Regions from separate parts of the Homo sapiens genome. Here regions 1, 2, 3 and 5 are each linked to region 4. Evidence: promoter capture Hi-C in 16 types of primary human blood cells and fetal thymus (Javierre and others, 2016). All regions are on one chromosome and are shown on one strand. The core of a region is centred on a gene start or on the middle of the fragment in contact, and the rest is flanking DNA. Distances in the headings are between cores, read along the strand shown.

Region 1 (2,700 bases), core at 193-2,692, 370 kb after region 4:
CTCCACAAAGGAAGCAATGGAATGGGTTCTAAAAGAGTAATTGTTTGCTATGAGGACAAATGAGAGGATATTCCGGATTCAGGGAAGGTAGTGTGCAGAGCTATGAAAAAGTCTGCTGCATTCAGGACATTCATAGTGGCTGCAGCATAGGCATTTTGCTACTAGGCGATGGAATTAGCCCAACATAACCATGAGCCATGGTAGCTAGAGGAAGCACAGATCCACCTATCCATTGAATCACATTTTTTCATTAACAAAGACTGGCTTCTTTTTCTTCTCGGCTAATGTCTTTCCCATTACCAAGGCAATTAAACAATAGCAGTGAAAGGAGCATTGAGCCTGGAGCCAGGAGACCTGGGTTTTAATTCCAGCCTTGCCCCATGCTCTGTTGGTGACTTTAGATGATTTTTTCACTCTCTGAACCTCAGTAACCTCATCTCTAAAGGAGAGATTGGAACAGAAGTGACAACTAAATCTCTAGTGTCACTTCCAACTTTAACATTATCTGGTTCTTGGCAATTATAGCATGACAAAAGGGGTACAGTAATTTTCATTCTGGTGAAAGCCCAAACAGAAAATGCAGGACTTTCTGTCATATCACTTCACTTTTATTTCTAGACCTTGGAAGCTGGTAAAATGGAGCTGCCCATGGTTGTTCCTGGAGTCTAGGCCTGGCCTAGATTAGGTGTCCAAGGTCAGCTCAAGGCTAAATCTTATTTGTCTTGGAAGCATTAGTCTTTCACTGTGCTGGAATCATCCAAGGCTGTCAAGAAATGTTGGATGAATGAACATACGGGATCTGGTCCTGGATTGGTCTATAGGCTTAGAAATTGTTTGTATGGATGACTTTGAGGGGACCTTATACACACTTCCCCTCTTAGGGGAGACTCTGAATCAGAAACAGTTTCTTCAAGTCTGCTCTAATATTGCCCTATATCTCTAGGAGGATTACAGGATTGAATAAATAGGGAGTGGGTCAAGACAAAGGTCTAGTGCATATGTGAAATTATGCAAATTCCAAACAAGAAATGGCCACCTGGCCCTAGATCTTATGGACATACTAATAAATATTTCTGAATGGAATAATTCTAGACATAGGTATCTATCCCTCCTAAATTACTGGGGGAAAGTCAGACTAATGCCTCAAACTTTTTGGTCTGTTTTCAAAGATGTTCAAATGTTGCATCCCAGGGAAGCCGTGGTGGTGTTCTTTGTCACGTCCAATAAAATGTTCTTATGGAACATTTAATTTTCTTTTCTTATGGAAAAACACTTTTGCTAACAAACAAGGCAGTATTATTTTATGTATGCAACCTGTAATTGTGGGAAACATCAGCTTTGGAGTCAAGAAAGCTGGTTTCAACTCTGGGCTTTATTGCTTAATAGTTGTGTACGTAGCGGATGAATTATTTCATCATTGAATCTCAGTTTCTTCATCTATACAAAGGGCGTGATAACACTGTTCATAGATCTTAAAACAGATGGTACATATAAACTGCATGGCATATGGTAAGTTTTCCATAAATACCATTTATTTTTCTTATTATTTTTCAAAAAGTAAAAATAATAAAGATATCATATTTCTGAGTTCTCTCATTGTCTGTTATTAGTTTGTTGTGTTATATGATTGTCCTTGCAAGCAGACAAGTACTGCAATCACCAAGAGCTTGAAAATAATTTAAGAAAAAAAAAAGTATTGTTACTACTATTATTATTTGCACACAAATTGCTAAGACACTTCCAATTTTGGAGGCAAAACCCAGAATTCTGAGGGTGTATCATTGTGGCAATCTCTGGCTTTGCACAATCATATTTTAGACATTAAATAGCTCTGAACCTTGTATTCTAGATCCATAGGCCACAGCAAGCTGAAAGGTTCTTAGAGGCCATCCTGAAAAGCCCTTCTATGGGTGAAGAAACTGAGACTCAGAGACAGAAGTGGCTTGCCCAAGATCTCCCACATGATTAGAGACAGTGTGAAGACTGGAATTTGTATCTTCCGATTCCTCATCCAGTAACAGCTTGTTGCCCCAGAGCCTTTGCTGACTCACCATGTAATCTTGGAAAATTCCCCTGACTTCTGTTTACTGGTCTTTCCATGAAACAAAAGATGGCGAGGATATCTCATGATCCATACCTCATGCAGATGTCAGTGGATTTGTTAGGACTAGGCTGCAATACACATTCGGCTCTGTAGAACTGGGCACAATCCATTAATAATTCATAAAAGACACCTAAGTATTACAAAGGGAAGTGGTTTGTCATTGTCAGATGGAAGGAACCTCCTTTCACGTGGTGGGGCAATTCAATGTTTTGCAGTCCATAGTGTACCCAGTGACCCTGCCTGAAGTCACTCAACCTCTCTCAGACCCACTGTACTCAACTGGAAACTGAAGATATGGCCAGAGTATCATTAAGTTTTCTTCTAGCCCTAATATTCTCATACTTTATCAGTTACTTCAATTTAGAACCCCATCATGGACTAACTGTACTTCCCAATAATAAGGATCCATAGCAGCTGAGAGTCACCAGCAAGAAAATCAAAGCAGCTAATGAGAATGAAATTGAAAGTAGGAAAGGAGTATAGATTTCTCTTTAAGCGTTGCCTATCTGGTCTAGAAATGTTACCATGTAAAGATACACTAAGATCTCTTAACATTGAGTAAGATTTCCAGTCAATGTTTCAGAAGCATTCCAGGT
Region 2 (2,700 bases), core at 90-2,589, 260 kb after region 4:
CCCCACTCCTCCCTTGGTGGAACAACACGTCTCTGACACTTTCAATTTAAAGACTCACATGTGTTTTCTCACCAACAAGCCCTAGGGAGTAACGAAACTTTCTTCTCCTTGACTCTCCCAGCAATCTGTTGATTTGGTGTCAACAGGTATTACAGGTATCTGTGTGTCACTTAGGCATTACATTTATTTAGAAAAGAAAAGTATGTTAGAGACTGGATGTCTCCCCCTGCCCCATTAAACTGACACAGGGAACCCCAGGATGACAGGGAGTTCAGATCTTCTAGAAGTGACCACTCCAAGCTTCAAGCTTGACCCTTTAGACCTTAAATCAGTGGTTTCCAAACTTTTTGCATACCCTCCCAGTAAGAGAAATAAACACTTGAAATGGCTTTTTTGCTTAATTCTGATGGACACATTAAAAAAACAAAGCGTTTGTCTAGAGGTAGTGAGAAGAATGCTGATTTAAATGAGAAGACAATGAGAGGCAAAGTGATGTTGGGGGCGGGGTGGGGAGAACAACTCGAGACTTGGCCTAGGGTCAGAAGATCTGAGTTTACTAACTTAATCTCACTAAGCCTCACTTTCCTCATCTGTAAAGTGTGAATGCTAATTACAAAATGAGATCACATATGTGAAAGCGTTTGCCTTATAAATGGTAAGGGATATGCAAAGGTTCATAGCTATTACTATGTATAAGCTTTTAAATATTAATGATTAATTTGTGTTAGAAATGAAATTTCAGACTTCATCATAGAATAAGGTTTAATCTTTCCGATTTTCTTATCTGCAAAGTTTTTATAAAACATAGTTGTCCGCATTATTGATTTATTTGCATGCCACTTACTTTAAAAAAGGATTTGAAGTAACATATACTGTTAGTCACAGAAATTACAGGATCATTAAAACACAGATGAAAGATTAAGACCTTGTCATGAAAGGACAGCTCGAAGAAAAAAACACAGAATAAGAATAATTTTAATCAAGCATATGATGTGATTTTGAGCTTCCCAGCAGCTTAGACAAGAAAGGAACATGCATTGCATTTCACAGCCCTCTTCCTCTAGTAAAGGAAGAATAGCTATGGATCAAGGGGGACCCAGCCCTTTCTAGCCCTAAACTCCACAAGAAATGTATCATGTGCAACCTTATATAAGAAATATCAAAAATAAATTGGGTGGTATCTTCAAACCGAAATGTAGCAAAGATACTATTCAATCTGACCACTAGGCGAGATTTTCCTTTGTGAATCAGTGCTTGCCTTCCCAGAACTAAACAAACAGCAAGATGATTAATATAAGGAGCAGGCTGCCTTAAAAAAAAAAAAAAAAAAAAAAAAAAAAAAAAAAAAAAACGAAAACAAAAAAACAGAGAGAGAGAGAGAAAGAAAAAGAAACAGAGCAGTGAAAATCAGAATGCCTGCCCCAGCCGGCTGGGGCGTGTCGCTGTCACCATTCATTAGGGGGTGTCAAGAAGGCGAGGCAATACGTGAGGTGCCTTGCACAAGGTCACTTGGTGTCTGTGAAACTGACTCTGCATTCTGAGTTCCTTAATATGATTTTTTAGGTCACAGTGTTCTAGGCAAAGCTCCCTGTTGATGTACATCTCTCATGCAAGATTTAGATCACCTCTTTTCGGGCAGAGCTCCATGGAAACACCGCCCATGATTTCTGAAAAGGAGTCTGATTGGGCCCTGGTGATACCCGGCTGGAGTGGACAGTGATCTCTGCAGTGGACACATTGCTGGACTGTTGGCAAGGCTACAGCTACCAGAATCTAGTCCTTGTAGGCTATTATTATTCTAATGCCATAGTAAATTCCTGTTTATCCAAAATGGCTAGGAAATGGGGCATTCTGAGCAATGGAAAATTCTGGTTCATTGGGTTACCCTCCATATCATTTACTGATTCTTGGTTTCAAAATAAGTAAATTACAACACACTTTGCTAATCACTAAAATGATAGTGGGTATGATTTAAGCTTTTTTTTTTATGATCCATAAGGTACTTCAGGATCTATTAGCACCTAATACCATTGTTAAGATCGCGACTTGTCATTTTCAAGGATTTGAGGTAGAAATGCAGGAGGTGGGGACAATTGGGCTGCATCAGTATTAACTCCCAACCAGATCGCTGGAACTGCTGCTGCAGTTGAGTTGAATCATTTCTTCCTTCATACCAGTTTGTTGGCAAGTGAAATAATAAGCATAAACATATTATCATAGTGCCTGGTATAGAGTAAGTCATTATTTTGTTATTATTTTTTTCCTCAAGAACATCAGGGGAAAGAAGAAAAGAATCGAATTCTTAACTAGCCAATTTGGTGTCTGAACAAATTCAATTCATAGAGCATTAGTTCTGACAGGAACCACGAAGAAAATATGCCTAATTTCATCATTTTCTGTAAAAGATAATTAAGGCCCAGAGAGGGAATGTCACTATAGCCTCATGTCTGTGAGGGGTTAGAGTTGATACTAGAACCCAAATATTCTGGGGCTAAGACCAGGGATCTTTTTAGCAGACCAACTCTTACCTTTATGCAGAGTTTCTGCACAGCAGGAAACAGAGAGCTGGAGGAGAAATGGCCTGTTTGCTCGGGGACTCTAGGAACTTACCCTATCAATACGGTTTGAAGGTCATCAAAGTCCCCTTCTGTACAAAAGCCCTGGCTATGACTCCAAAACACTTCACAGGGTAAAGGATTA
Region 3 (2,700 bases), core at 32-2,531, 340 kb before region 4:
GTAGAGTGTTGTCTGCTTAAATCTTTCCCTGGGCCATAGTTTTCTCATCTATAAAATGAAGAGAATATCACATGTTCTATCTAAGCCAGGGTGATGTTATAAGATTTAGATAAGAAAATGGATGGGAAAATACTCTGTAAGTTGTAAAGTGCTATAATTATGATGATTTTCCTAAATAGCATTAATTATAGCAACCAGTAACTATAAATTAATATGAATAATATAGCTATTGTTAATTATTCTTCTTCTTGAGGGAAGCATCATTCATTAAGTGTTCCCTTGGGGTATTAGTAAAGAGACAGGATTTAATCAGGTCTTCTACATCTGTACTTTACTGAAGCAGAAAGTACATCAACTGACTATGCCTGAAGTCACTGCAATATCTAACCACTGAGACTCAACAAGTCACAGAATTACCCTGAACTACACAATAAAACAAGTAATTATGATATGCAACCAGTCTGTGCTTGTAAGACATCAATTAGTTTCCAGGGTCCTTATTCTCCCTACCCTCTAAGTTCAGACTGCTCCCTATTTTCAGTTTCTCAAATTAGGTTGATGCAATTTATCACAAGTTCCAGTCTAATGCTGTGTGATTTTGCACAAAAACTGGATAACAGGGGAGCGTGGGGTGAGAGGGGAGAAGATTGTGCAAATACTATAGTAGCTTTACTCCTACATTTCAATTCCATTATGAATTAGAATAGGCCTTTTTTTCACTCTTGAGTCTCAATTTTATATCTCAGTTCAAATAACTGTTGTCCTGCCCAAGTCCTGCCACGAATCTGTAGATATTCATTTACCTTTCGATTTAGGGGATCTTGCTACTCTCAATCCCTTATAGTAGATACCAGGATCCAAAGTCCTATAACCAAGCAACAGAATCCTATAGACTTACCAACATGTCTTTCTCCTAACTCCCTATCTTTGTAGCTGTGCTAGTTACCTGACTGGTAAATGACCTTCCCAATGCCAGCAACAAGGAAGATTCTCCTGACTAATGCTTTTTCTAGTTACCACCACAAACTTTTATAAAGTAGTTAATGTAATTATAACAATCCCCACACTCTTTAACCATCACTAGAGAGATTTCAAAGATTACATCGTCTTAGTCTGTGTTCTGCCAAGAAAAACAATGCCTGTGAGAAAAGCTCGCATGTTGGCCATTTATTTTGGGAATCAATTCTGAGAAACAGTACTGAGGGACTAGAAGGAGTTAAGCAGAGAAGGAAGGAGATATGGTTTGGCTGAGTCTCCACCCAAATTTCATCTTGAATTGTAGTTCTCATAATCCCCATGTGTTGTGGGCAGGACCGTGTGGGAGATAATTGAATCACGGGGGCATTTTCCCCTATACTGTTCTCCTGGTTGTGAATAAGTCTCACAAGTCTCAGAAGTTAAATGGTTGCAGAGAAGGCCCGGCACAGAAAGTGAGTGAAAGGTGTTGCAGTTGAAGCCAAGTGCTACCAGGTCACACCTGTGCAGAGCTGATCGCTGTAGCAGCTGCTGGTACACGAAGGTGGGAGGGGAAGATGCGAGGTGGGGCACCAAAGGTGTCTACTGACAGCGTCCCTTTACCAAGGACCACAAAAATCCTATGAATAAACCATTCGAACATGTTATTTTTATATTTATTTTTATGCATTATCTGAATACATATGTGATAAAAAGCTCACCAAACCACAGTTGGGACTTATTATGACTTGACAAATCATAATAAGTGCTGCCAGCAGAATTATAGGATGATGACTCCCCCACTGTAAGTACATAAAGACAGTCCAATAAATAGCCCAGAACCAAAATGTACAGCGTGTGAATGAAATGAACTTAGGCCATTATCAAGAGTCTGATTTTGAATGGGTCATATTTCAGGCCAACTATCACTAACCCACTAACTACAGGTGATAGACGAGGAGTACCAGCAATTGGTTATGAAAGAGCATTCATTTGTATTTATTTACTTTTTCATTCTTTATATCCAAAAAATTTAAATTCACAGAGAAGTTGAACAACTATTAAAATAAACTCCACTCACCCATCCTTCACCCAGATTCATCAGTGGCCACCATTTCATCACACTAGCTTTCTGTCTACATAAATTAGATTTGCTGTTGCAATTGAACCATCTGTAAGATGTTGCAAAACCACCCCCCGACATCCCCCATATGCACCTCAGTTTGCATCTCCTAAGAATTTCTAATTTTTTCAAAACCATTCTCACACTGGAGAAATTTAACATAGAAACAGTATTATCTAATATCACCCATACTCACATTTCACTAGTGGTGCCAGTAGTGTTCTTTTATCTACTGTTAATTTTCACCCCAAATCCAAGGATCACATCATAAAATGATATGTCTTTTTATTCTCTTTTAATTTAGAACAGGCTCCTAGCTGATTTTTGATTTTTATAAAGCCAACTTTTAAAATAATTCTGGTCAGGTGTCTTATAAAAAGTCCAACCAATCTGGTTTTTCTTGATGACTGGATTCAGATTAAATAAGTCAGGCAGGAATATCACATGCGTGAGGCCACATCCCTTCTGCTGCATCCCATCAGGAAGCTCAAGGGTCAGTTTGGCCCATGCTTGGTGATGCTGAGTTTGATGACTCGATTAAGGTAGTGTGTACCAGATTTCACCATTTTAAGCATGACTGCATGATTTTTAAATTAAAAATAATCTGTGAGGTGATATTTTGG
Region 4 (2,700 bases), core at 121-2,620:
TTCACAAGTAATTTCTGACCAGTCAGGCACAGATGCCATGCAAAAGACAAGGCCTCAAGGTGCCATTATCTGTCAAATGGACCCAAGGCAGGATGAGGCTGAATGAAAGAGGAGGAAGAGGAAGAAAGGCTCACTCAGGGGGAGAGGGGAAGCTGCTGCAAGCTAACTACTGCTCTCACTGACTCAGGATGCCCATTTCTCACAACCAGAGGCCACAGTTTTGGAGCAGACAAGAGACTGCAGAGAGGCTTGCTGAAGCTCACTCCACGGCTGGATTCCTGGCAGGATGAGAAATGGAGTTCTAGTAAACTAGAAGGAATGCTGCTGGCAGGAGACAGACCTCTCGAGAGGGCTTTAAATGGAAATATGAGAGCACGAGAGGAACTCTAAGTGTAGAAAATGCACTGGGCAAACAAGCGTGTCGCAGATGTGGGCGCCCCAGAAGGGAAGGAGCTCTGGAGTCACAGGGGACCCAAAGGACAGAATGTCAGGTGGCCCTCCAAGCCCGCAGGTGGCAATGGGAACAAGGCGGGAAATGAACTGGAGAGCTGAAGGCGGGGGCCTAGGAGGAGGCCGCAGAGCTGTGATGAAGGGCTGCTCATCAGAGGCACATGCACGGGTCAGATAAAGAAGCTCCGCTGCGAAGACAGGGGGCAATGCAAGGCCACAGCCGAAGATTCCATGCATGCTCTTCACGGTGGCAAATTCAAAAGCCTTGGAGGGCAGCATGCTTCTATGATAATAGGGAATGGGGGCCGGGGGGAATATGTAGACCCCATATCAATGCTCTCAAAACCTCTCTCTCTCTCTCTCTCTCTGTCTCTCTCCCTCCCTCTCTCTTGCTCACTCTCTCTCTCTCTCTCTCTCTCTCTCTGTCTCTCTCCCTCCCTCTCTCTTGCTCACTCTCTCTCTCTCTCTTTGTCGTGCTCTCTCTCTCCCTCTCTCTCCCACTCCCCACCTCTGGCCTAATATACCTGCATGTCCACAGAGGCACCAATCTGCAATGATGATGGACTCTCTCACCCACCCTGCTACTAGGAAACTTCTTCCATATATCATAAACAGAGACCAGTATTACAATACTTCACCCACTGCGCCAATTTGGCTTTCATGTCTGTTTCCTGTGTCGATCACAACATCCTAGACAGCCCAAACAAGGCTTTATTCACCTCTAGTCCCCGGTCCCTGGAACAGCAGACAATAAATAAGGAATCAACAAGTGTCCTTCACTGCCGCACACATTGGCTGTGAATATCCTTTTGCAAAGTGCAGAACATCTGAAAGATTCTCACATTGACTAAACAACAGTGTGACCTGAAGTTAAGAGAACCATAAAGGTAAATGATTGCTAGAAGTTTAATTCCAAACAAGGAAGAGCAATTTGATGCAATGGGCAGAAGACAAACATTGGGAGAATGAGAACGTATCCTCTTGAGTTGTGATGTGAACAAACAGAGATTCCAAGATCTTGCAAAAGCGAACAGTCAGCAACCAGCATGGTGCTTAGAGTAGTCCCTGGGCAACAGAAAAAAAACAGATAAATGAAGAAACATGGACAATCACCCTACCTGGGTCTCAGCGTGAGGAGGAGAACTAGGACTTCCAGACAGAAAAGAGGAGAAGCATGAGGAGGGGGCTGGGAAAGACATTTCCCTGTGGGCATGTGGTGCCCTCCACTGGGGCCAGAATTCCCAACCTGCCTCACTCTCCCCATCTGTGAAATTGGCTGATTCCCTGAGGTCCCTCCCAGCACTGACTATCAAGTGACAGAGAACCTAGAAACTCCAGGAGCTCCATCAGAGCCCTGACTACCTGTCCAAGTGAGACTGTGGGAGCCTCACTCTTCTCACACCTGTAAACTGAGGGTGCTGCAGTGTCAGCTATATCAACACTCCCAAGTATGCCTTTGCCAAAACCTCTATGGATGAGAAAGGAAAAGAGCATGTATGGAATTGGCCAGGGCTTAGAACCATCTTGAACATGACACACTTATGCACATCGTCACATCTTCCCAGCATCCCTGTCCCACCTCGGGCAGCAACTGTCAAAGTTCTGCCCCCAGGATGACCTCCCAGAGTCCTCAGGGCAGCTCCATCTCTCCAGCCCTCATTCCTTTCCAGCTCTTTGGTGTTTCCCTGTAATAAAAACACTGTGCACTTCTCTTTTCATGTTTTAACCATGAAGTGCCTTCCTCCAGACAAGTACTTTAATCCTTACTCCAGTCAGAATAGGTAACATCAGCATAATTACCATCATTACTCCCATTTTACAGAGGAGAGGGCTGAGGCTCACGTAAGACCTAATCTTCATCTTCCCAGGGATCCTCCAACTCCTAGCCAGGCCTCTCCCAGCTCCTAAATCAATCATGAAAGACTACAGCAATCACATCCAGTACTTTTCTGATCTAGTGTCTTTGCCGCTAAATAAAGGCAGAAATCAAGGTGGCAGGATCAATCCTGTATTCAAATCACTGTACTGTCTGCCACCCTCCTATGCTGGTCCAGGGAGCAGAACTGAAAATGTGCCTCAAGGCCCCAATCCAAAACAGATGCCATCACCCTGGACAGATTCTCCAACCATGCTCCAAGACTGGTATCCATCTCACTTCAACCAGCCCTCCTTCCCAGGCCTGGGTCTGTCTACTGGCACAGGGGGACCCTGCCATGAAAATGAGGGCATCTCTACTGGATTGCAGGCGAT
Region 5 (2,700 bases), core at 27-2,526, 300 kb after region 4:
ACTTCAGGGTGTATTTCCTAAAAACAAGGATATTCTTTTAACACGACCACAGTATAATTAGCAAAATTATGAAGTTAACATTGATACAATATTAATGTTAATCTATACACTCTATTCAGATTTTGCCATTTTTTGCATTAAGGACCCTCTTGCTCTACTCTCATATGTTGGCATGGTTTGCCAATGATCTTTTCTCTGGTGAGGCCTTTTATTGTGATGGGATTCCCTTTACTTTCGGTGTCAAAATATCCTTTATTTGATGGGACAATAGTATTTTTATTTACTAGTATTTTTAAATGTTTATTACACAAAATTAAAGATGTCAATCTTATGTCATTTCTTCTTATTTTATTGATTCATTAGTCAAGTTTAAAACCACTGGCATAATTTCGCTAGTCCTCTATTGTTGGACATTTAAATTGTTTCCAGACTTTTAAAGTTCAAACACTGTGGCAGTAAGCAAACTTATATATTTATCTTTTCATTAACATGTGGTTATTTTTGTAGGATAAATCCAAGAAAATAGAGAAGATCAAAAGAAGATACATAGCTGAAAACACTTGAAGGTATAGACTACCTTGAAAGTCACGCAAGAACTGTTCTTCCTGCTTTCCATATCCAAGGTAAATACATTATCCCAATCAATCAGTTACCAGGGTTAAAAAATTGTCTGCAGATGTGAAAATACATATATATATATATGTAACCCCTGCCTCCCGACTTTCTCCAGAGATGAGCTTTTAATTGCTGTGCATTGGAGAACAATCAACTTTCCCTCTTCAGTGTCAGGGTGACACAAATTTCTGCAGGCCCAGACTCTTACTACAAATCCACTTATATCTCTTCCATCTTGGCTGCCAAAAGGGTGTTTTCCTCTGCACCTAGCATTTTGAGCAGCCTAAACAGGTCAGGGAAGCAGAGAATAGCTTCCATGTGCTCTAAATCAACTCTGAAGGTTCAGTAGAGAGGTCATCATCTTCAGCAAGTAATGTTACCTTTTCCTTTTATTTGGTTTTGGTGATGCTGTTTTCAAGGTATTTGATGAAAATATTTTCAAACTTTCTGTGTTTCCTTAGTCAGAAAACCCTTTGAAGGAGCCAATGGGAAGAGGTAAATGGCTCCAAGTTCATTTTCCAGGAAAGCAGACTTTATATCAAACAGCTGAGCACATTTCCCTTCACCACCTAGAGCTGGCTCATAATCTGAGTGAGATTTACACCTCCCTACACCAAACTGTGCATATACAATCCTAGAATTTTAGAGCTGAGTGGAGCTTTGGGCCAAACTGTGCATTTTACAGATGAGGGAAATTAGCCTCAAGAGTGGAAATGCCTCCCTCCAGGTCTCACGGTGAACCAAGGCCATGGCTCCAACAGGGTGCAGTCTCCTGGAGGTGCAGCGAATCTACTGGGATGCCAGGATGTTAGAACTTCTATTTATGTAATTTTTGAAATGATTATAGACTTCACAAGAAGCTGCCGAAAGAAAATGGAGAGGTCTCACTGCACCCTTCACCTACTTTTCCTCTGTGGTAGCATCTTGCATAACTGCAGTCTTGTTAAAACAAGGAAATGGACATCAGTACAAGCCAGAGTCTGTTTGTATTTCCCGTATTTATATGCACTTATTTGTGTGTGTGTGCTTCTATGCAACTTTTTTGCATGTGTAGAATTACATAACCACCAAGAATTGTTTATATTTTAAATTTAGAAAAGAAAGACAACTGAATGAATGTTTAATAAGTGCACGGGCACTACTGCCTATATTGCTGTTTGTATGTGCATTTGACAATTGCATGCTTTATGACACCTGAGAAATACCTCTCACCTGAGAAGAGGAGTTGAACCATGTGGCAATCTACATTTATTTTTTCTTGAACTCTCAGTGTATCGTCACATTCATCAGTTTACAAGAGCCCCATCAAGCGGATCTATGGATGATGTTATCCAGTTTCCATTAACCTAATCTTTCAAAATGGACTTCAGTGAGTTAAAATGATTTCTGCCTTAAAAAACCTCTGCAAGCAGGCCCGGCGCGGTGGCTCACGCCTGTAATCCCAGCACTTTGGGAGGCCGAGGCAGGTGGATCACAAGGTCAGGAGATCGAGACCATCCTGGCTAACATGGTGAAACTCCGTCTCTACTAAAAATCCAAAAAAAAAAAAATTAGCCAGTCGTGGTGGCGAATACCTGTAGTCCTAGCTACTCGGGAGGCTGAGGCAGGAGAATGGTGTGAACCCGGGAGGCGGAGCTTGCAGTGAGCTGAGATCGCGCCACTGCACTCCAGCCTGGGAGACACAGGGACACTCTGTCTCAAAAAAAAGAAGAAAAAGAAAACCTCTGCAAACAGTAGATTGAAGATAATACTTACGTTGCAAACACAACCAGACAACAAGGAAATGGCAGAGTTAACCCTTTCTACTCCTGGTAAAAACTCTGCCAGCCATGTGACAAGATAAAAGCAATTATCATCTAACCTGAGCTGACAGGAAGTCAACAAAGGACAAAATAACCTGTCCAGAAGATATTTTGAAAACGGATTTGTATCCATCGTTGTTTACAATGTAAATGTATATTTTGTCATGAGAAACGGAATGATGAGAGGAGGCCGCGATGATGAGTAAGACATCCTAAACATGACGACAAGCCTTTATAAAATTTTCAGCAATATTTAAAGTCATGTGATTCTCAATAAGAGACA

What was found. The method cuts DNA at HindIII sites, captures the fragments that hold promoters and counts their contacts. A CHiCAGO score of 5 or more calls a contact.
Region 1: a fragment that was not itself captured here is called in contact with the fragment with the promoter of FLJ42393 in region 4 in 1 of 17 cell types (neutrophils); the score reaches 5.1 in neutrophils.
Region 2: a fragment that was not itself captured here is called in contact with the fragment with the promoter of FLJ42393 in region 4 in 1 of 17 cell types (fetal thymus); the score reaches 5.1 in fetal thymus.
Region 3: a fragment that was not itself captured here is called in contact with the fragment with the promoter of FLJ42393 in region 4 in 1 of 17 cell types (total B cells); the score reaches 5.0 in total B cells.
Region 5: a fragment that was not itself captured here is called in contact with the fragment with the promoter of FLJ42393 in region 4 in 1 of 17 cell types (neutrophils); the score reaches 5.4 in neutrophils.

The regions. Positions count from the first base shown.
Region 1 is chr3:187,811,388-187,814,087 of GRCh38, reverse strand. No RefSeq gene overlaps it. Among named protein-coding and RNA genes, the nearest start is that of BCL6, 67 kb to the right of the region's middle. The HindIII fragment of the contact is 4,554 bases long and covers 1-2,700 here.
Region 2 is chr3:187,916,181-187,918,880 of GRCh38, reverse strand. No RefSeq gene overlaps it. Among named protein-coding and RNA genes, the nearest start is that of LINC01991, 59 kb to the left of the region's middle. The HindIII fragment of the contact is 1,279 bases long and covers 700-1,978 here.
Region 3 is chr3:188,519,120-188,521,819 of GRCh38, reverse strand. The region is part of intron 5 of LPP (LIM domain containing preferred translocation partner in lipoma); the gene reads right to left. Among named protein-coding and RNA genes, the nearest start is that of LPP-AS1, 48 kb to the left of the region's middle. The HindIII fragment of the contact is 4,102 bases long and covers 1-2,700 here.
Region 4 is chr3:188,177,213-188,179,912 of GRCh38, reverse strand. It overlaps FLJ42393 (a long non-coding RNA gene), which reads right to left and starts at 1,370. Exons shown (of 1, transcript NR_024413.1): 1 at 1-1,370. All of the region lies in intron 1 of LPP (LIM domain containing preferred translocation partner in lipoma), which reads right to left. RefSeq lists an enhancer at 1-606. The HindIII fragment of the contact is 11,595 bases long and covers 1-2,700 here.
Region 5 is chr3:187,874,930-187,877,629 of GRCh38, reverse strand. It overlaps LOC105374264 (a long non-coding RNA gene), which reads left to right. Exons shown (of 3, transcript XR_924813.3): 2 at 508-623. Among named protein-coding and RNA genes, the nearest start is that of LINC01991, 100 kb to the left of the region's middle. The HindIII fragment of the contact is 8,295 bases long and covers 1-2,700 here.